Linked DNA regions of Homo sapiens: regions 1, 2, 4, 5, 6 and 7 are each linked to region 3. The links are contacts of gene promoters, found by promoter capture Hi-C in human tissues and cell types (Jung and others, 2019). All regions are on one chromosome and are shown on one strand. Each heading gives the region's core, a stretch centred on a gene start or on the middle of the fragment in contact. The rest is flanking DNA. Distances are from core to core; before and after follow the strand shown.

Region 1 (2,865 bases), core at 330-2,829, 580 kb after region 3:
GAAGCCATTATCCTCAGTAAACTAATTCAAGAACAGAAAACCAAATACCGCATATTCTCACTTATAAGTGGGAGCTGAATGATGAGGACACATGAACACATAGTGGGGAACAACACACAATGGGGCCTGTTGGAGGGTGTGGGGGGGAAGGAGGGAGAGCATCAGGAAGAATAGCTAATGGATGCTGGGCTTAATACCTGGGTGATGGGATGATCTGTGCAGCAAACCACCATGGCACACATTTAACTATGTAACAAACCTGAACATCCTGCACATGTACCCCTGAACTTTAAAGTTGGAAATATAAATAAATAAATAAATAAATTCCCTGATGCTGCTGCCACTAGTCCAGGGACCACACTTTGAGAATCACTTTTCTAGAATCAATTATAATTGTTCACTCTCCATGGCTGCAAGTACTTATCTGATCTATAGTGTTGCTTCAGGACTTTATGCTGATTTTCAATCTGACGCTGTTGGCATTTCAACAGTTGTCACTGGTAAATTCAAAGATAGCAGAGGTTACTTAGATAGTCAGAATACTATGAAAGAGGGATCTTCTCTACCTTAGGATGGTTAAAAAAAAAAAAAAGAAAAGAAACACCTCCACCAGACCAGCTCTGTCTTCAAAACTCTGCACAATAGTTTCGTTTCATCATTATCTGATACTACCTACAATGACTTAGTACTCAATGTTAAGTACAAGATACCTATATTTGCTTCCTGGTTGAATAAACCAATTCTGTCTCCTATGATTTAATTTCTGATAATGTAGGAACACACTTATTTCACATCTACCATTCTCTTGCCACTTTAATATATCAGGTTATATATGTATTGGTACAATGAGAATATCCTAAGTAGTACCTTAAGAGAGTACCAGCCAAAATATTAAAAATTCCACTGAGGAATCAAAAAAATCCCTAGTACCTTAGATTCCATATGATTAGTAAAGAGAAATGAAAGAAATACAAGCTCTTGAGGTTTGGCTTGAAAAAATATATTATTTCTATATTCGTTTTACTTGGAGAAAATCTAGTTTAAGACCTCAGTTTCTCAGAGGCATTAACTTAATGCTAGACACGCTCAAACTTCACAAAGCCAATCAAACATTCAAATGTGTTATTAACAATATGACTAGCATATATAAAAATAAAATACAATTACATTTTTAAATGTCAGCAATCGAAAAAAGCGTCAACTATTACAAACTTAAGCTATGATTAGAAAGTACAAGTGCAAGCTTTTCTACAGATGCATATAACTTCCAGCTAACCAGGATCCAATGCCTAGAAGCATTTCATAAGACATGAATGTTGAAAATTATAATACATTTTAACTGCTATAGTTCATTTTAAGTCCCATATGTTAGATCATTTACATAAATATTTTACTATTTAGTTTAGTTTTAGTGCAGAAACCCAAACCTTAAGTAAAATGAAATATTCGTGTACTAAAATTTCTGATTTATTTTATTTTATTGTTGTTTATAGAGACAGCCTGTGTTGCTCTCTTGCCCAGGGTGAGGTGAAGTTCCACCGTCATAGCTCACTGCAGCCTCAAGCTCCTGGACTCAAGTGATCCTCCTGTTTCAGGAGGATCCGTGTTCCATTTTATTAAATAGACTTTTATCCTATTTTTTGTATTAAAAAATACACAATCCCTAGGTTTGGAATAAATGTTTTGAAAATCCTGAGATTAATAAAAGAAGTATTTTGTAAAGAAAAAGATGATACTCTTTTCCTTTTTCAACTTTTAGGTTCACGGGGTACATGTGCAGGTTTGTTACCTGAATAAATCCTGTGTCACTGGGGTTTGGTGTACAAATCATTTCATTACCCAGGTAGTAAGTATAGTACCCAATAGATATATTTTTTTAACCCCCATCCTCCTCCCACCCTCCACTTTCAAGTAGAGCACAGTGTCTATCATTCTAGTCTTTAACTTCATGAGTACTCAACGTTGGGCTACCACTTATAAGTGAGAACATGTGGTATTTGGGTTTTCTGTTCCTGCATTAATTCACACAGGAAAATGGCTTCCAGTTGCATCCATGTTACTGAAAATTCAGGACATGATTTCATCCTTTTGGAATCTCAATAAGATTTGTCTTGTAGTTAATATTACTGTACCAGTGTCAATTTCCTGGTTTGGGTAATTGTGTTAGTCAACTTGGGCTGCTATAACAAATACCTTACAATGGGTAATATAAACAATAGAAATTTATTGCTCACAGTTCTGGAGGCTGGGAAGTCCAAGATCAAGGTGCCAGCAGATTCAGTGTCTGGTGAGGGCCTGTTTCTCATAAATGATGTCTCCTGTGCCTGTGCGTGGTGGAAGAGGCCAGGCAACTCCCTTAAACCTCTTTTCTAAGGCCACTAATGTCATTCATGAAGGTGGATCCTTCATGAGTTAATCACTTCCCTAAAGGCCCTGCCTCTTAATACTGTAACAGTATTAGTGTGTGTGCATAAGTGTGTGTATATATATGTGTGTGTGTATATATATGTGTGTGTGTATATATGTGTGTGTATATATATGTGTGTGTGTATGTATACACACACACATATATATATACACACATGTTTTGGAAGGGAGAGGGCACCAACATTCAGACAGTATCAACAATGTATCATGTATTTTAGAATATTGGCATTTGGGAGAAGCTTGGTGAAAAGTACACAGGAACTCTGTCCCATTTTTGTAACTACTAGTGAGACAAACTATTTCAAAATTAAAAGTTATAATTAAAAATTAAGGTCTGAACAATAGAGAAATCAATCTCAGTAAAACAACTCATCCTGGAGAGAAGCGTTTGGTCCATTTATTGTAGACAGAAGAGAAACCACTGGTTGCTTTTAGGAT
Region 2 (3,219 bases), core at 261-2,760, 660 kb after region 3:
AGTTCAGCCCTGAGCTGAACACAATTTTAATTAAGAAAACTAAAAAGTACTTCATTCAAAGTGAGTTCCAGTTCAGCATCCAATTTCTCCCTTTTTAAGAATTTTAATGAAGTTTCCCAAGTGTCAGTGTCTCTTCTCTCTGAAGGTGACTTTCACGTCAATTTATCCCTAGTCACCTTGCAACATCAGTGGATGCTTTTCCTCCCTATGTCCCTAAGTTACATTTTGAACTTGGAGAGGAGAAATCTGACTATTCATTGGCACATTTCTTGTACGTCATCACACATACAGTTTCTGGTTCTATGATGAAATAACCCAGTCTTATAAATCTGTCAAGAGAATGAGTTAGATTTTTTTAAGAGTAGATGATACTTTGTTCAAATAAATCTGATTCATGGAGAGTTTTAATGCTCCTTTTGAAAATATTTTTAAAAGCATTTTTTGGTAACAGCCCCACCCTCATGAGAGGCTGAAGAACATACTTGAAACACAAGACATAATCAAATAAGGGCACAGGAGCAATATAGAAGTGAGTTTAAATCCCAGCCCTTTAATTGAATCAAATCCAATATCAGGGAGGAGATTACGTTTCTCTAGTGTTTCAAGGGCTGGCCTATGACCTGAGTCAGTGTGTCATTGCTGGGACAGGACAACGGCATGGGGACTCTGAACCACCCTCTGTCTATATTCTTGGGCAAGCCATTGACCTCTTTGAGCTACTCATTCTTTGCATTTCTGAACCCCAAAAAACAATGTCTATTAAGAACGTGAAATGAGCCCTTTAAATGTCAGCACCCATCCTTCCCAAAACAGAGCAGATCAAAACAAAACACTTTTCATTCTGCACCTGGTCTTCAGGCTATAAACGACTATTTCCCCCAGCTCTGGCCCCTTCGTTGGTAACACTGAGTACACAAGCAAATGTGCTTTGGCAAGACAGGATGTTTTTTCAGCTGAAATGGTAGTGGTTCAATTAGCTTAGCAGTTTGCAGAGAAGATTCATTCAAAACACTGAAAAGCAAACATTGGAAAAATGGAAAGTTATTTCCCAGCTTGCTCTGGAGGTATTTTAAACTCTGAAGATCAACAGAAAAAGAGCTATAAGAAAGTGTCTTGGTCCAACAGAGGTAGAAGTAGCCTCAGACTGAATGAATTCATGTAGAAGTGAGGGCATCTCCCATATTGATTTTGTGTTGTGTGTTCTTATTTACCAAGATTCAAGGTTGTGGGTATTGAGTGTTCCCTCATTATTGCCTGTTGTTCCACTTATTACTCACCTAATTCTTCCTTTCTTTATAATCAATTGTTTATTCTAGCTTTTCCCTCTTTACTAGACCATGATCCAACTGAAGGCATAAATCTTTCTCAGATCCCAAGATAATGAAGAGCACATTAGTAGGTACTTAGAAGAAAGCAGGAATTCAAAGCTTATGGACGAGTCAAGGGCTGACCAACAAACTCAGCCATTGTGGTGTGGCTGGGCTGGAGTCACAAAACTCTGGGTTTTAGTCCTCATTTTAAGACACTGAAAAGTCACTGGTTATCCCTGAACCTCTGTTTTTAACCTAGGAAAAGAGAATTATGTCTCCTAGCTCAGAAGTTACTTTCAGAATTGAAGTGAAGTACAGCATGTTTAAGAGTTGGACACTTGATTATTGCTGGTTTTCCTTCTTCTCTGATAATCAGGCAGTAGGCATGGGCATCAAAGGAAGTCAAGGAGAAAAAGATAAAAATTCAAAGAGATGTCTACTAAACATGCACTATGTCCGGGTCCTTTTGTGCACATTGTCTTCACTTCTTAGTGGTGGTCTGTTGGTCTTTCTAATATTTGACACCACTGATCTCTCTTTTCTTGAAATATCTTTTCTCTGTTGGTCTTGCTGGCTTCAGTTTTTCTGTTCTAAAACCTGCTCTTCCAGGTTACAGCTGGAGTGAGGCAAGCTAGGTGCCTGGGGCCGACTCTTGGGTTCATGCAGGGCTGACCTTGTGCCTGTATGAACCCAAGAGTGAGTGCCTCATTAAACATTCTGTCCTGTGTGCTTCCCTGCCTCACCTTGGTGCCTGTCCTTTGCCCTGTCTCTTCATTCTTATATTTGATATCTAGGGCTGCCTTAAAAATTACCACAAACTGGATGAATTCCAACAACAACAAAAAATGTATTCTGTCACAGCTCCAGAGGTCAGAAGTCTAAGATTAAGGTGTTGCAGGGCCTCACTTAAGGGTCTCCAAAGGCTCTAAAGAAGACTCTGTTTCTTGCTTCTTCCAGCTTCTGGTACTATTGGTGTTTGTTGGGGTATTTTTGTTTTGGTTTGGTTTGGTTTCTTTTTTTTTTTTTTCTGAAGACAAAGTTTTGCTCTTGTCGCCCAGGGTGGAGTGCAATGGTGGAATCTTGGCTCACTGCAACCTCTGCCTCCCGGGTTCAAGCAATTCTCCTGCCTCAGTCTCCTGAGTAGCTGGGATTACAGGCACCCACCACCATGCCTAGCTAATTTTGTATTTTTAGTAGCGATGGGGTTCCACCACATTGGCCAGGCTGGTCTCGAACTCCTGACCTCCGATGATCCGTCTGCCTTGGCCTCCCAAAGTGCTGGGATTACAGGCATGAGCCACCAGACCTGGCGTTCCTTAACTATGGTTACATCACTTCAATCACTGCCTCTGTCTTCACATCATCTTCTCCTGTTTGTCTGTCCATCTCTCCTCTTTTATCTCTTATAAAAAGCATTTGCCATTGGCTTTAGTGCTCACCTGAATAATCCAGATGACCTTACCTTGAGAATGTTGAGATTTTTAATTTTATCTGAAAAGCTCCTTTTTCCCAATAAGGTCACGTTCACAGGTTCTAGAGATTAGGATATGTTCATACATTTTTGAAGGCCACCTTACAGTTCTTTTCCTCCCTTCTAGTCTTCCTCTTGGACCCCTTTTCTGGATCTTTTGCTCTATCCACAAAGAAATGTCACCATCATCCATGTTTTGGGTAAGAGCTAAAACAGGGAATCCAGTTGAGATGCAGAACGTTTACATTTTGACAGATTGAAATATTCACAGAACTTTATGATTCTCATTTATAACATTCATCAAAATTGTAATTAATTAATTTTGAGACTATAAGCTCAATGAGGACAGGAACTGCAACCTCTTCAAAGCACTAGCCCTAATACTGTGTTTCATTGACACGCAGGAAATATTCCTTGAATATGTGGAGGGAGAAGGAC
Region 3 (3,287 bases), core at 394-2,893:
ATTTTGAAGGACTCATGATCTGCACTGTGCTTGGCTGCTGGTGGAAGCTTAAAGACACCAGTAATTGGCAGAACTTTATCTTAGACTTCCATTTGACCCTCACAACCTCACACATGATTTTACACAGCTTCCTATAATGGGGGAGAAAAGCCCTTCTTTTAAATCTAATGTTAGTTTAAATGCTAAGGCTTTCAAAGTGGGCCTTTAAAGTCACTTTTTAGAATTTGTATTTTTTTTTAACCTAAAATAGACATGCCAACATTATTCTGACTAAAAGAAGTAGACAAGGTCATTCAACTCCTAAAAGCTTATTTTCCAAAAGCACAGTTAGGTCTCAGCTTTCAGGGTGCTTCTGGCTGTATCAAAAAGACAGAATATACTGGTCACTGTGTTGTTTTCTGAAAGTGCCGAGGGTAATCTGTGTATGAGTTAAAGGGCCAATTTCCTATAGGAACCTTCTCTTAGATGGGATTTTTTTTTAATTAAACAATGTTGGTGAAATATATTTAAACGTAAATCACAAATTCGAAGTCTTCCAAATATTTATTTACTAATGTGGAAGACATGGAAACTACAGTAATCTCATTTAAAGGAAGTTACTTTGATGTGCATTTGCTTTTGGCGGGGTATGATTGCTGACCTGCCTTTGAGGGCAACTTCCTTTGGCTCAGGTAAGCAGGCAAACCCGTTTCTCCAAGGCGATTCCAACCCCACGCCCCTCAAAACCTTAAATCTTAAATTGAGTTATTGGGTGCAGGTCCTTTCTCCCACAGAACCTCCCAGCTTCCGGAATAGAGGAGCGGGGCAGAAATATCCTGCTTTTTATTTCAGAGCTGACGTTTGCAATCCTAGTGCACTAGCGGAAAAAAAAAAAAAAAAAAAAAAAAAAAAAAGCTGAATTTTCCGCGCTCTCCTGGCAAATTGGCGTCCGCTCTCCGACGCTAAACCAAAGGAAAAGGAGTGTTCAATGGCGACAGGGCGCTCTTTGAAGCCGGCTCCTCACGCGGATTCTGGCCCAGGCCGCCGCTCCGGTCCCAGTCCGGCTGCAGAGCGAATTGGAGAGGATGGCACCTCCTGCTTCCCGGGGGGCGGAAGGAGCGCCAGCGCCTAAGGTGGGTCACCTGCCAGGAAGGGAATACGCATGGTGCAGACTCACGTGGGAGGAGCACAGGTCCCGGGTACAAGTGCCGAGCTGGCGACTTAGAGAAGAGGTAGACTCGGGCTCAGACCAAGCAGGCGTAAGGGAGTAGACGGGACGTCCCGTGTTTGCAGTGACGGCGGAGTCACCCATCCCAGCAGCCTCACCTTCTTGGAGCGCTGGTCCCTCCCCTTGGACTGAAACCCCAGGGGCCACCGCACCGGGTGGGCGGGACCGACTACTACCCGACCAGCCGCTGGAGCTGCGTGCCAGGCGGGGCTGTGCGGAGCAGCTGAGCGCAGAGCGGAGCACCAGGCACCTAGCGGGCCGGACTCTGGGCGGCACCCGAGCGGGCCGGGCAGCAGTGGGCGCTCGCGATCCTCCTCTGCCCAACGCGCTCTCCCTCCGGGCCCGGCCTCCTCCGTCCCCTCCTTTTGCTCCCGCTCCTCCTCCCGCTCCTCCCCCTCCTCGGGATTGAGCACCAAAACGCCCGCCTGCAAGGTCCTCTGCGCCCTGGCAGCCAGGAGTCGCCGCCACGACAGCCGGGTCTCAGTGGGTGCCTGCGCCTTCTCCCCGCCCGCCTGCCCCGGGCCATCCAGAAACTTGCTCTACCCGCCGCGGGTGCTCGGCAGTGCTGCCCATGGCCCAGCCTAGGAGCCTATTTAGGGCGCCGGACGGGCTGGACAGAGGCGCGGCTCAGGTGAGTGCGGCGCGCGCGGGGTGGGAGAGTGGCAGGACGCAGGTGTAGAGGGCTCCGAGGTGCCTTTGTCTGGCGTTCTGGACTTCGGGCAAGTGCAGAACCTAAGAAGAATCGAGGCTGGAGCAGGTGGAGTGGATGCAGAGGGAACCAGGAAGCAAAGGCTGGGGATTTTCCCATCCTCCTCACCTCCTGCCCTAGCACCTCTGCTCTGGAAGTCCCGAGGGACCGGTTGATCTGTAAGGACAGGGACCCAGATTTCTGACTCTTACTGGGTTGGATGTTTTCCCCCCCTGCAGAGTCGTGAGGTTCGCTCCTGCCGGCCGCTTCGCGACCGCAGCTTCACCATAGGACCCTGTAGGGCAGCGAGAGCGCAGCACTCAACGGATCCTGGGTACCACCTGGGGCCAGAAACTGGGGCGAGGACACAGCCCGCAAAAGTAACTCGGCTGAGGGAGCCTTTGGGGGTGGAGAAGCCTTGGTCGGGTTTGCCTTTGCATTTGGTTGGAGATAGGCATCTCCCAAAGAGAGAGATTGAGGTGACAGCCCTGACAATAAACCTCTCATCCCTAATGCCAATTACATGAGGGTCTTGATTTTTTTCTTGTTACTTTTTACTGATTTTTTTCCCCCTTCGTGGTTTTCTATTTCCGGGCCCTTGGGTAGTGGCAGCGGATGGAGGTGAGGGATGGCGGGGTGCGAACCCGCGGTTGGAACGCCTAGACCCCAGCTCCCAGGAAGGGTCTTATTCGCGGAGCTTGACCTCTCCAGGTGCGCTCTACCAGCCAGGGGGCGGACGGCGCGCTGCTCCTCCTTCTAGCCCCAGCCTGTCCCAGGAAGCGGAGGACAGACCCAGAACGTAGGCGGATGATGGGAAGAAGAAGCTGGAGCCAAAGCCGGGTGCCGGCGCGGGATGGGGTGTGCTGGGCTCTGCAGTTATAGGTCTATAACTCTGCAGTTATAGGCGCTATAGGTCTTCCATCTCTTTCCCTCCCCTGGGAGCCAGCGATTCCTCGCACACTCAGGGCGCTCTCTTGGGCCAAGGGTTGCATCCTCCCTCTTCCTCCTCCTTTGCAGATCCAGTGGTACCCTTGCCTCGCCTTGCGCGAGTCTCGCTCCTCCCTTTCCCACAATGTTATCATGAGCTATTTTTATCTACAACTTGTGCCAAGATGCTTTTGGGGGGATTCTAGGGAGGCCACTCCAAATCCACTGTCTTTGCGCTGCGCTCCGAGAAACAGTCTCCTGTTAGCATGGAGCAGCCTCAAGGAGTGGCGGGGAGGGTGGCCGAGAACGGAAGGAGCCAGTCCGCCCTCTTCTCCTCCCTCAGCCCTAGCCCCGGAGGGAAACCCCGCCACCACCAGCTCGGCTGCGCCTCCCGCCAGTAGCCCCGGAAGAGGGTCCCCAGACGAGTCCCCACGCTCCCGCTTTCAGGCGCTGGGTGCTTGGACA
Region 4 (3,145 bases), core at 459-2,958, 540 kb before region 3:
AACCTTGCGGAAAAAGGGGAGAGAAAAGATATTTTCTCGAGAAATATTCCCAAAGGTTTGATATTAATCAAACCACGTGTGATTCAGAGAAAGAAGAACAAAGGTCTGAGGAAAGATAGGCCATAAGGAGGCCTCACGGGGAGCATCCTGAGAATTTTTAAGTGTTTTAAGAATATATTCTGTTGTATGGTACATCCCATTAATCAGGTCACATGAATGCCTTGTAAATTAACACCAAAATTGTGTTAGCTTTGAGGAAGATAGCCAACCAAAAGCTCCTAGCACTGTTTCCCTACACACACACACACACACACACACACACACACAATGAATAAGCAGCTGCATTTTAATCAAAATAACTAACAGTAAGTACTTTAGAACAGCAAAGGAGCAGCAAAAATCCTGTAAAGCACAGAAACCCAAGACAACTTCTTAGAGGAGAGCACATCTTGCCTCTGCCACTCCATTCCCCAATTCTGGATCAGCCAAAACTAGGAGGAACTCCCTCCTTTTCCTTAAGGGGTAAGCAAGAAGATACCAGCAGCCCCCATAGCCACTGTGGACACTTGCAGTCTTCATCACTGGAGACTGCTGTAGTCCCCACGGGCTCCAAGCCCAGCAAAGGGAGCTCTCCAGAGCCCACAGACAAAGCTACTCCTAGAGAAGTCAACACTGCACCCCACACCCTCCCCATGGCCTGTACTACTACCGCACTGCACCATCTTTGGACTAGAGTCACTGCTAGAGTGTGTCCTGCTCCAGAAGCGAGTGGTAATTGCACTTTCTATTTATGAGACCTTCCACCAATGCAAGATGCCCACCTGGTATCATGCCATCTCTGAACCAAGCTGCTGCTATGCCTAATCCCCTAGGGCCAAGATACTACAGAGCTACTCCATCTTTTTCTCTGGTCTCTGGTGAACCCTGCCTTTAGGGCCAAGCTGAAGTGACACTGTGCTTCCCAGTGACCCAGGTTTCTGGCACACTAGAGCAGTCATGCTTCCTGGTACCACTGCTGACAATGTGCCCCAGCTCCCAGGGATCTACAGGCTTCATTTACCTATGTAGCCACACTTTCTTGGACCAAGCAGAGGTGCCTTACATCTCAGAGAATTGGAGCCTAGGCTAAGCTGTGCCACTCCACTCTCCAGGCATACAGCCACAGTGCCATGCCTACACAGAACTGGACTAGCCCCCTGAGGTCAAGCCATATACATGCCTTGCCTTTCTGGGAAGCAGAGTCATCACTGTTTTTCTCCCCTTCCCTTGGGCCCAAGCCATATCTTGACATTTCTGGGTCCTTCCAGTTGTTTCATCTTGGCTCGCAGAGCAAAGGATACTACTGTGTCCTACCATTCCAGGGTCCACATTTACAACTTTGTGGTAGCTCATTCCCTGGATCCCAAGTGGTATTGTTTGTTCTTGTTCTCCAATTGCAGCTGTGCATTGCTCTCTGAGGCCCCAGCCTCTAAAACACCTCTTCTTCTTCAAAGCCAATGCCAGTGTTGTGGCCTTCCTGCCAGGGACAGAACCACAGCTACGTTATAACTCCCTAGGCCCAAGCTACTGGGATATGCCTCAGAGGAATAAATCTTGGCTTACTGGAAAAACAGCATCCACCCTGGGCTTAGTTAGTGAACCTGTGCCTCATGTTCCAGGTGTTATAGGAGTTTCACAAGACCCTGAGACCAGGAAACTGGCACCACAGCTTCTCTGAACACCTGAGCCCTGGATCCCATTGTCTCTGTAGCTGATTGTGGGCCATGCCAACCCCAAACCCAAGAAAAATACCTTCAACTATGAGTTCGAGTTATCAACCTTGAAAAAAGATTAGACGAATTGCTAACTAGAATAACCAGTTTACAGGAGAACATAAATGACCTGATGGAGCCGAAAAACACAGCATAAGAACTTTGTGAAGTATACACAAGTATCAATAGCCGAATCAATCAAGTGGAAGAAATGGTATCAGATATTGAAGAACAACTCAATGAAATAAAGTGAGAAGATAAGATTAGAGAGAAAAGAGTGAAAAGAAACAAACAAAGCCTCCAACAAATATGGGACTATGTGAAAAGACCAAATCTACATTTGATTGGTGTACCTGAAAGTGACAGGGAGAATGGAACCAAGGTGGAAAACACTCTTCAGGATATTATCCAGGAGAACTTCCCCAACCTAGCAAGGTAGGCCAGCATTCAAATTCAGGAAATACAGAGAACACTACAAAGATACTCCTCGAGAAGAGCAACACCAAGACTGATAATTGTCACATTCACCAAGGGTGAAATGTAGGAAAAAATGTTAAGGGCAGCCAGAGAGAAAGGTCAGGTTACCCAAAAAGGGAAGCCCATCAGACTAACAGTGGTTCTCTCGGCAGAAACCCTACAAGCCAGAAGAGAGTGGGGGCTAATATTCAACTTTCTTAAAGAAAAGAATGTTCAACCCAGGATTTCATATCCAGCCAAACTAAGCTTCACAAGTGAAGGAGAAACAAAATCCTTTACAGACAAGCAAATGCTGAGGGATTCTGTCACCACCAGGCCTGCCTTACAAGAATGCCTGAAGGAAGCACTAAACATGGAAAAGAATAACTGGGACCAGCCACTACAAAAACATACAAAATTGTAAAGACCATCAACACTATGAAGAAACTGCATCAACTAATGGGCAAAATAACCAGCTAGCATCAAAATAACAGGATCAAATTCACACTTTACAATATTAACCTTAAATGTAAATGTGCTAAATGTCTCAATTAAAAGACACAGACTGGCAAATTGGATAGATTTGGTCTTTTCACATAGTCCCATATTTCTTGGAGGCTTTGTTTGTTTCTTTTCACTCTTTTTTCTCTAATCTTATCTTCACACTTTATTTCATTGAGTTGTTCTTCAAAGAGTCAAGACCCATCGGTGTGCTGTATTCGGGAGAACCATCTCACATGCAAAGACACACATAGTCTCAAAACAAAGGGATGGAGGAATATTTACCAAGCAAATGGAAAGCAAAAAAAATCAGGGGTTGCAATTCTAGTCTCTGGTAAAACAGACTTTAAACCAACAAAGATCAAAAGAGACAAAGAAGGGCATTACACAATGCAACAAGAAGAGCTAACTGCCCTAAGTATATATGCACCCAATAC
Region 5 (3,237 bases), core at 395-2,894, 610 kb after region 3:
AAGAGGTGGAGAATTGTGGGGGGTGATAGAAATGCTCTATACCTTGATTGTAGTGGTTGTTTGATGAGTAAACATATTTGTCAAAACTCAATTAACTGGGTGCATTCTAATTATGTAAATCACACTCCAATCAAATAGATTTAAATTGTTTAAATGCCCAAAGCATGAGCATGGAGAAGAGTGGTAAAGTTAAATGCATATCAAGGCAAGAAATTAAGAGTGAGATACTCTAGTGTGTCAGAAGGCAAGAGTACTATCAAGGCAGTTACAGGTCTTGTCAAACAGCACTAGAACAGGCAATGAAGCAGCTGCCACTGGCCAAATATAGGGCCATTTGAACATCAAAAAGAATAATAAATGCAATCAGTTGAAACACATTTAATATTGAAAAACCAATAGATTTCATAATAAGAGAGAGGAAAAGAAGGGGTAGGGAGACTGAGACAGAAAGACAGAAATAGAGAGAAAGAGACAGATCCTTATAGAGACCGTTGGAAGTAACTGGACATTTGGGCTACCAACTTATTTCCCCGAAAATCAACAGTTGAAGGAAAATAATGTCTATCTTGCATTTCCTGTACACACTGTAGAGCACAGAAACCGAATATGCCTAGAAGATAAAAATAATTTCTTATTTACACAATAATTCAGCTCATGAATTAGGAAGAAATCAGAAAGTTCTTCTTTTAATTGCCAGCTGAAATCCTTAGCTCAGGTAATGACTATCTATGCATAAAAAATTTGTGAAAAGTTACCTTATTATTGAAAAGACAATATAATGGTAAAATTGAGCATTCTACCCAAACCCACCGATCATTTTAGTGCCGACTACAGTGGGACAACAACACATTGTGTATTTCCTGGCATGATGCAAAATAAGCCATAGTATGAAGTGTTACTGTGCAAAATATTAAAATTGAGTCTAACCAAGCTTAAAATGGCAACTTCCATGCACGGAAAATACAGGGGTATATAAGAATACATTAAATGAAACCACCACGAAGCAAACAGATGCAGCCATAATATGGGATTATCTACAGAAAATTGAAGCCAGTATCTGCAACAATATTATGACCAAAAGAAAAAATAAAACTGATGGCCTGTATTACCTTAACAATGTGTTAATGTGTTATTGGTTCAGAATTAGGCAAAAAGAGAAATAGAACAGAATAGAGAATCTAGAACTCATTACAAAGCAAGAGCTGTATGTCTAAATCAGCAGAAGAAGTTGTAAATTATCCAATAAATGTTTTGTGACAGTGATATAAATATCAGAGAATAATGATAATAAAGTTGCCTCTACATCATAAAAATATAATTACAGATGCAAGTACATAAGTATAGAAAATGCTATTATAGGCCGAGGCAGGCTGATCACCTGGGGTCAGGAGTTCGAGACCAGCATGACCAACATGTTGAAACCCCGTCTCTACTAAAAATACAAAAATTAGCCGGGCATGGTGACGTGCACCTGTAATCCCAGCTATTCAGAAGGCCGAAGCAGGAGAACCACTTGAACCCTGGAGGCAGAGGTTGCAGTGAGCTGAGATTGCACCATTGCACACCAGCCTGAGCAACAAGAGCGAAACTCCATCTCAAAAAAAGAAAAGAAAAGAAAAAGAAAAGAAAAAGAAAATGCTATTATAATGTCATAAAAATTTTTAAAAAATTTTAAATCTTGGAATAGAAGATCTTCCTCTTTAAAACACTAAAAGCAGGATCCATAAATAGAAATTTTGATAATTTGAGACAAAAATGTTAAAACTAAGGTATGATTTTTTAAAGTGACAGGCAAATACTTAACTGAAAAAAAAGTCTTCAAGCTACATAATAGAGAAAGCATTAGTTTACAAACTATATAAAGAACTTCTACAAATCAATAAGAAAGAGAGACACAAGAAAACGCTAAAGGAAAGTGGGTAAATGATATGACCAAACATTTTATACAAAAGGAAAAAATGAGAAATTAGCACACAAAGATACTAATTCATCTCTGTAATAATATTAAAATAAAAATAATAAAGATATAACAGTAATAGCAATATAAGTAATAATAAATATATAAAATAAATATAAGATATATAACATAAACATATGTAATTATATGTAAAGATACATAATGTAATATAGATATATAATTTTTTACATCACAAAATAGGAAAAAGTAATTTAAGTTGAACCCTGCCCACTATTGGCAAGTTTGTGGAGAAATGAGTACACTCTCAAATGTGTATTGGGGGTGAACATTTTTCCCCATTTATGATGTTTCTTTTTATGTAGGGAAAGCTCCATTTGCATAACACACCTCTCTCTGCCTCTCAATTATTTGTTTCTATGAGACAAATGATTAAGATGGTTGGGAATTTTGGAAAATAAAACTGAGCAACTCTGTGTAACTTCGCTTCTTTCTTCTCCATATCTCTTGATAGTAGAGAGTTCAAATTCAGCAGACTTTCTGCTTTGGAGTACATGGTATTTTCTGGGCCTGTAGTTGAGAGATCAAGCAGGGAAGGCTTCCCCAATGTGGAGATTTTGGAAGAGAAGTACAGTATATCTAACCCTGAGATTCAGTATAGAAAATTTACTTGCATGCTACTGTCGTCTGAATATTTGTGTCCTTTCAATACTCATGTGTTAAAATCCTAGCCCCTAAAATGATGGTATGAAGGTGATTAGGTCTTGAGGGTGGAGCCCTCTTGTTCAGGGTTAATGCCGTTATAAAAGAGGCCGCTGAGAGCGGCCTTGCTTTTCCCACCATGTGAGGACACAACTAGAAGTTACTGTCTATGAGAAACAAGCCCTCACCAGACACTGAATCTGCTAGCACCTTGATCACAGGCTTTATAGCCTCCAAAACTATGAGTAATACACTTCTGTTGTGTATTTATTTATTTATTTCCTTTTTTTTTATTTTTTTGAGACGGATTCTCCTTCTGTCACCCAGGCTGGAATGCAGTGGCGCCATTTTTGCTCACTGCAACCTCCACCTCCTGGATTCAAGCAATTCTCCTGCTTCAGTCTCCTGAGTAGCTGAGATTACAGGTGCCCACTACCATGCCTGGCTAGTTTTTGTGTTTTTAATAGAGACAGGGTTTCACCATGTTGGCCAGGCTGGTCTTGAACTCCTGACCTCAAGTGATCCGACCACCTCAGCCTCCCAAAGTGCTGGAATTACAAGTGTGAGCCACCACACCCATCCCACCTCTGTTGTTTATAAGCTACCCAGTTTATGGGATT
Region 6 (3,262 bases), core at 178-2,677, 630 kb after region 3:
AATCTCATCTTGAATTGTACTCTCCATAATCCCAGGGAGACATCAGGTGGAAGTCATTGAATTATGGGGGCAGTTTCCCTCATGCTGTTCTCATGATAGTGAGTGAATTCTCAAGAGATCTGATGGTTTTATAAGGGGTTCTTCCACCTTCGCTCAGTACTTCTCCTTCCTGCCACTTTGTGAAGAAGATGCCCTTTGCCTTCCACCATGATTGTGAGTTTCCTGAGGCCTTCCCAGTCATGCTGAATTGTCAGTCAATTTAACCTTTTTCCTTTATAAATTACCTAGTCTCAGTCAATTCTTTATAGCAGCATGAAAATGGACTAATACATTCATTAAGCAGATTGACTGGTAAGTTTTTCAAGAAAGTAGTCAGTCTAGAAGGATGGGGAAAGGCATTTTTCTCCTCTCCCTGTGAGGATGGGAGGAAGAATGTGAAGGAAGTCTATGTCCCAGTTCTTACATGTGGCTCGACAGGGCACACTGAGAGAGATTTCTGATAAATTGACTTGTGCCTTGAAGACTTGAAGGGAATGGTACTGGCTACTTGCCTGTAGGGGACAGGCTGGCTGGAACTGGCCCAGCAGCAGCAGAGAAAAGAGAGCTGCACTGGGAACTGCCTCACCAGCATGGCAAGGGGAAGGCTTTCTGTGTGCCTCAGGGTGCTGAGAGCAGCACCCAGACTAGGGTGGTCAAAAAAAGATCTATTTTCAAGAGGCCTATCTGCAGGAGAAAGCAGATACCAGCAGAAAGTGGCTAGAGGCATCCCACCAGAAGTAGGAATTGAGGCAAAGTCATAAGACATCAGTAGGATTAAGCATAGTCCTTCTCAGGAAATACTGAAGAATGAGGAATCCCAGACATTGTGAGGTAACAAACCCCTAAAACACACAGAAGGGAAGGGTCAGTACTAAGGGTATTTAACAGGTGTGTGTGGAGGGTAGGAACTACAACTGTGCTGGCTACCTAAAACTGTACCATGTTTTTCCTTGTTTACCCTCACACATGGTAGAGAAGCCGGAAAAAGATGACCCAACACAGAGAGAGTGAAAGAAAAATCAATAAGGATAAGAGAAGAGGTGATGATGTGCGGATATCTCTCTCTCTTTCTCTCTCTCTCTGTCTCTCTCTCTCTCTCTCTCACACACACACACACACACACACACACACACACACACACACCTCCTTAGCTTAGTTCTCAGTACAATAACCGAGAACAAAGACTTCTTTCTCACTTATGTCTATCCCAGGAGCTCTGCTAATTACACCACAAAAACCCAGGCTGATCAGGCACTACAATTTTGAATACTGGAATAGAAAATGAGAATGTAGCAAAGCATAAACTTATTATTATAGCTCCCACCTAGAAGTTACACACTTTATTGGCTAAAGTAAGTCACATGGCTATAATTAACTTTAAGTAGCTGTCAAAGTCATCTTATCTTCTCTGTCTAGGAAGGAGAACTGGAATGTTTGTGAGCAGCTCAATGGACTACTGAAATGAGTAAGCCCAACAGAAAGAACAGGCTGCACTCTCCCTTTCTCTCTTCTGGCTTCAGAGCCAGTTCAGGCCTAAGGTAAGGAAGAAGAAAAACTTAAAATTGTATGACACATTGGAGTTTCGATTAAAATTGGACTGAACTTTTTAATATCTGAAAATATTTTTTAAATAGCTTCTGCTATTCTAGATTATTCTTCAGCATTTTACTCCTGTTTCCTCCTTACTATAGGCAGAGACTAAGTCTTTGCCCTTTGATGTTGGTCTTGGACGTGTGACTTGCTTTGGCCACTGGGAATTTGGCAGGCATGATGTGAGCCGGAACTTTTCATAGCCTTGTGTAGTCTGGCTTTTCTCTTGTATGTTGGAGATTGGGCATTGATATAGTAGCTCTGTGTCCCCACCCAAATCTCACCTTGAATTGTAATACACATAATCCCCACGTGTCAAGGGTGGGACCAGGTGGAGGTAATTGAATAATGGGAGAGGTTTCCCCCATGCTGTTCTTGTGATAATGAGTGAGTCTCACAAGATCTGATGGTTTTATAAGCATCTGGCATTTCCCCGGCTTGCACTTCTCCTTCCTGCTGCCTTGTGAAGTCGGTACCTTGCTTCCCCTTCGCCTTCTACCATGATTGTAAATTTCCTGAGACCTCCTCAGCCATGCTGAACTGTGGTCAATTAAACCACTTTCCTTTTTAAATTACCCAGTCTCGGGTATGTCTTTATTAGCAGTGTGAGAATGGACTAATATAGGCATATCTCATGATAGCGGTATTATCACTGTCCCTCAGCATTGAGCAGACTGAGAGCCCATGGCCAAATCCAGCTAATCCATGGCCAGGGAGCTACCCATCCAAGCCTAGTCTAGTCTGGATGAACCACAGTTTCCCTGCAGGCAGTGAGAGTGAGAATAATTGCTTAATGAAGGAAACCACTGAGTTTACAATAATTGAGTTTGTTACGGAAATAGCTGAAGAATACATGCCTAAAATGATTTAAAACCTCCTTGCAAATACAACTTCCATTTTGGAAACGGAGATATTGTTAAGTAGGTAGCTAGTCAGTCATGAGCAGGGCAGAAAAGTTCCCACACCCCCAACCAGGAATGTCAGGTGACTATTAGGTGATGTTCAGGTCGTTGTTACACTGTTTCTCTAAAATAATAATTGGTCACAGTCAGAGCCAGGGAAAGGCAGACCCCCAGTAGACAGAAACATCTGAAACTGGTGATCAGCATCTTCCTGATAAGATCTCAGAACTTGGACGAGTGGGCTCATGCATGTGCACTAAGAGGTAAAATGGTGGAGTTTAACTGCTATATGACCTTCTAGGAACATTAGAACTGGTAAGGGAAGAATGCCTCAAATGAGCATATGTACAATTCCAGTAAACACAATACACATGCAGCCCCTCTCAAGGGCTGGCAGGCCACTGAGCATGTAGGTAGCCCACTCCAAGGGAAGAGTCAGGAGAGAAGGGATGCAATCCCCCCAAAAGCATGCCAATCTATAAGAACCCTAAGTCAAAGGTCGAACCACACATCTGATCTCTCAAGTCATCCACTTGGCCCTCTTCTAAGTACTTTACTTCCTTTCATTCCTGCTGGAATGCTTTTTTTCCCCATAAGTCATTGGGGTACAGGTGGTATTTGGTTACATGAGGAAGTTCTTTAGTGGTGATTTGTGAGATTTTGGTGCACCCATCATCTGAGCAGTATACGCTGTACCATATTTGTAGTCTTTTATCCCTCACCTCCTTCCC
Region 7 (3,259 bases), core at 702-3,201, 890 kb after region 3:
CCTGGATGGTCTTTGTGGTTCCAGCTATTGTGTTTCAGGCCCCATTTGTCTCTGCCAGCTCTGCTATTCTCTTTTTTAAAGCTAAGCCTTGGTTTCACGAAACAATTACTGAATTGAAGCACTTCAGTAAAGGAAAACGTCACCCCAGTCATTCATTGACAACTCAAAACCAGAAGAGAACTTCGAAGTTTGGAGAATGTTGGTTGGACATTCTCAGCCACTTATGTACCATTATTATGATTTTTACAATATCCATGTACTTAATTATTTTTTCTGCTCTGCTCATTTTTTTCAACTTAAATAAATTTACTTAAAAGAAAGACATATAATTATTATAAATAACTTCAATACAGATAGCTTCAAAACAAAACTTTGAGCTCTGGGGAATTTTACCTCTGATAAAAGGGAAGGTAAGCAAATATTAGAACAGTGTTTCATATCTACTAACCACTGCACTGAGCCTTTCTCTTTGACATAATCTGAAAGACAATTAAAAAGGGAATAACTTTTCTACTACGAATCCATTGTAATTTTAATACCGTGGTCCATGCACCAAATAAAATCATCCTGAGTAACAGCAAGAGTAATCAACAACATTTTCTGAGTCGTAACTACACACCAGGCCCGGTTTGGGATCTTATATGTATTAATTCATTTAGTCACACAACAGCACTGTAAAAAAATTACTATCTCCAATTTACTGATAAAAATTAAGAAATCGAGGGTTCATTGTCCCATATGTCCTTTAAGCTTCAGTACACTCAATGGCCAAAGGTGCAGGGTTCAGCCAAAATATAATTTAAATGAAGCACCCAATATTTAAGAAACAAAACACCCACTTGCCTAACTATGGCTTTCCATTTTTTCTTTCTTTCTTTCTTTCTTTCTTTCTTTCTTTCTTTCTTTCTTTCTTTCTCTTTCTTTCTTTCTTTTTTTTAAGTAGAGACAGGGGTCTCTCTAACACTCCTGTCCAGGCTGGTCTCAAACTCCTGGCCTCAGGCAGTCCGCCCGCCTTATCCTCTCAAAGTGCTGGATTTACAGGTGTGAAGCAACACGGCCAGCCAGTTTTCTCTTTACAACCAGCAATGCTGGCATCACATCAATTCAAACAATCTCTGTCGCAAAAATGTATGCTCTGATGATTTGGGAAGTGAAAACAAAAAGTCTTTATAGATATCGAGAAACCGTGGTCTTTTAAAAGAGAAAGTATGGTTATAGAGATATACACATTTGTATTTATGAATGGAAAGTATTGATTTTAAAGTATAAACATCATTATTATTGTTTTCCAAGTTGTTGCTATTGGGGGAAACTGGGTATAGGGCACATAGGAACTGTCTGTATTATTTCTTACAACTGCATGGGAATCCATAATTCTATCTAAGGATAAAAAATCCATAATTTTATCTCAGGATAAAAAGTTTAATTTCAAAGCAAATGTGAACATTAAAATGTTCTGCAAATGTAGAGTGTTATTTCACTCCAAATAGCTTTCACGTCACATTCTTTCATTAGAATCTTCAGCAATTCTCTTCACTACTGTCTAGATTTATCAGTTTTACAGGTGGGAAAACTAAGCTTCAGAGAGAGAATTTAACTTATCCAGGGTGACAGAGCCCACAGATGACAGAGCAAGAATCAAATTCAATTCATTTAAAACTAAGCCAAAAACTAAGGCATTCCTGGAGAGACCTATATTTATAGTAAAAGGTAATATCTTTACATTTATAATGAGGACCTCTTATGCATAGGAAAAAATGTGAAAAAAATTAATGACCATGGTTTTTTTCGCCATCTTCAGCAGACAGAACTTGGACACACATGTGTTCAAAGCTCTCAAAGAGTAAGAAACTCTGGTCTACACAGAAATGCCTTCTTACAATCACTTGGGTTCTCAGTGAAAATTCCATTGATTAAAGCTGCAAATTCCAAACCCGAGCTTTCCTGAAGCCTCAGATTTCCATCTATAAAGTGCACTGCTCTATTTATAAATCAGGTGATTTTATCCAAACAGAAAGACAATCACTCTGCTTAGTCTTCAACAAATGTTCAACCAACTCAAGTCAAATAGGTTAAAGAATCTTAGTAAAACTGTTTAACAAACTCATTTAAATCTCCTTAAATATTTGAAATATATTTATAAATTTAATTTCTTTGATTTTTAAGTACTTCTAATGTTGACAGGGTAGGTTTAAATGCTAGCCAGCAAAACTTTAACAATTTCTGTAAATCCAAGAAAGTAAATGTATAAATATAGAAAATTTTAATTTATCTTAAACACTTCAAACTCTTTAAAATGGAGACAAACACATCTTGACACTTGTAACTTCAAATCTACATTTTAAATTGAAGCCCTACAGCCAATCTTTCAGTATCTTTAATACACTGGCTTCTTAAACATTAAATACTGAGATTAGCCACATTTTAACCCCAAAATAATTAATACTCTGGGTGTTTGTTCTACTTCATTACCTCTATTCAGATCTCTTTTGTCTTCTCAGGTTTCCAACTAAAAGCGGGAGGCAGGGGGTAAGATGTAAGAGGCTAAAACCGTGGAACCTTGGTACAGTTGCCTGTTGCTTGCAGATCCGACACTGGGATCTAGCATCTGAGTACTGTGTGTTTCTGGAATCCTGATATAGCCTGACTCCTAAAACTCTAGATCAATAGCCTTCAACTGTGATCAGTGTTGCACACTTAATACTCCCATATTCTTCAGATCCAGTGTTTTCACTGACAGAACTGGGGAAGTGGAACATATACCCTCACTCCACTCCCTTCATAGTTTCTTCACCAAACTTTGACCACATTCTGACAACGATGCACACTGAATGCCCAACATTGTTTTTTGTTTGTTTGTTTGTTTGTTTTGAAATGGAGTCACGCTCTGTCACCCAGGCTGGAGTGCAGTGGATGATCTCAGCTCACAGCAATCTCTCCACCTCCTGGGCTCAAGCTACTCTCCTGCCTCAGCCTCCCGAGTAGCTGGGACTACAGGCATGTGTCATCACACCCGGCTAATCTTTGTATTTTTAGTAGAGACAGGGTTTCACCATGTTGGCCAGGCTGGTCTGGAACTCCTGAGCTCAAGTGATCAGCCTGCCTCAGCCTCCCAAAGTGCTGGGATCACAGGCATGAGCCACTGCACCAGGCCCCAACTTTGTTACTTTTTATTTCTAGCAATTCTCACATTAACACTCATGAGCACTCTTGTTGCCATTTTGCAGATGAAAAAAAGTGAGGTTTAGAGAAGTTAATT

The links. The method cuts DNA at HindIII sites, captures the fragments that hold promoters and counts their contacts. A contact is called where the count stands out against the background at its distance.
Region 1: a contact is called between a fragment that was not itself captured here and the fragment with the promoter of HS3ST1 in region 3, in 4 of the 25 tissues and cell types used here (H1 embryonic stem cells, adrenal gland, mesendoderm cells and 1 more).
Region 2: a fragment that was not itself captured here is called in contact with the fragment with the promoter of HS3ST1 in region 3 in 3 of the 25 tissues and cell types used here (heart right ventricle, hippocampus and lymphoblastoid cells).
Region 4: a fragment that was not itself captured here is called in contact with the fragment with the promoter of HS3ST1 in region 3 in 1 of the 25 tissues and cell types used here (mesendoderm cells).
Region 5: a contact is called between a fragment that was not itself captured here and the fragment with the promoter of HS3ST1 in region 3, in 5 of the 25 tissues and cell types used here (IMR-90 fibroblasts, bladder, mesendoderm cells and 2 more).
Region 6: a fragment that was not itself captured here is called in contact with the fragment with the promoter of HS3ST1 in region 3 in 2 of the 25 tissues and cell types used here (mesendoderm cells and thymus).
Region 7: a contact is called between a fragment that was not itself captured here and the fragment with the promoter of HS3ST1 in region 3, in 4 of the 25 tissues and cell types used here (H1 embryonic stem cells, IMR-90 fibroblasts, lymphoblastoid cells and 1 more).

The regions. Positions count from the first base shown.
Region 1 is chr4:10,845,581-10,848,445 of GRCh38, reverse strand. No RefSeq gene overlaps it. Among named protein-coding and RNA genes, the nearest start is that of LINC02498, 110 kb to the right of the region's middle. The HindIII fragment of the contact is 3,496 bases long and covers 1-2,865 here.
Region 2 is chr4:10,770,917-10,774,135 of GRCh38, reverse strand. The region is part of intron 3 of LINC02498 (long intergenic non-protein coding RNA 2498); the gene reads right to left. Among named protein-coding and RNA genes, the nearest start is that of LINC02498, 35 kb to the right of the region's middle. The HindIII fragment of the contact is 5,223 bases long and covers 1-3,219 here.
Region 3 is chr4:11,427,250-11,430,536 of GRCh38, reverse strand. HS3ST1 (heparan sulfate-glucosamine 3-sulfotransferase 1) reads left to right here and starts at 1,643. Exons shown (of 2, transcript NM_005114.4): 1 at 1,643-1,838. RefSeq lists a silencer at 1,498-1,677 and an enhancer at 1,768-1,987. The HindIII fragment of the contact is 7,575 bases long and covers 1-3,287 here.
Region 4 is chr4:11,962,962-11,966,106 of GRCh38, reverse strand. No RefSeq gene overlaps it. Among named protein-coding and RNA genes, the nearest start is that of MIR12113, 180 kb to the right of the region's middle. The HindIII fragment of the contact is 3,517 bases long and covers 1-3,145 here.
Region 5 is chr4:10,819,353-10,822,589 of GRCh38, reverse strand. No RefSeq gene overlaps it. Among named protein-coding and RNA genes, the nearest start is that of LINC02498, 83 kb to the right of the region's middle. The HindIII fragment of the contact is 5,436 bases long and covers 1-3,237 here.
Region 6 is chr4:10,798,638-10,801,899 of GRCh38, reverse strand. The region is part of intron 3 of LINC02498 (long intergenic non-protein coding RNA 2498); the gene reads right to left. Among named protein-coding and RNA genes, the nearest start is that of LINC02498, 63 kb to the right of the region's middle. The HindIII fragment of the contact is 5,781 bases long and covers 1-3,262 here.
Region 7 is chr4:10,532,871-10,536,129 of GRCh38, reverse strand. All of the region lies in intron 11 of CLNK (cytokine dependent hematopoietic cell linker), which reads left to right. Among named protein-coding and RNA genes, the nearest start is that of ZNF518B, 77 kb to the right of the region's middle. The HindIII fragment of the contact is 4,000 bases long and covers 1-3,259 here.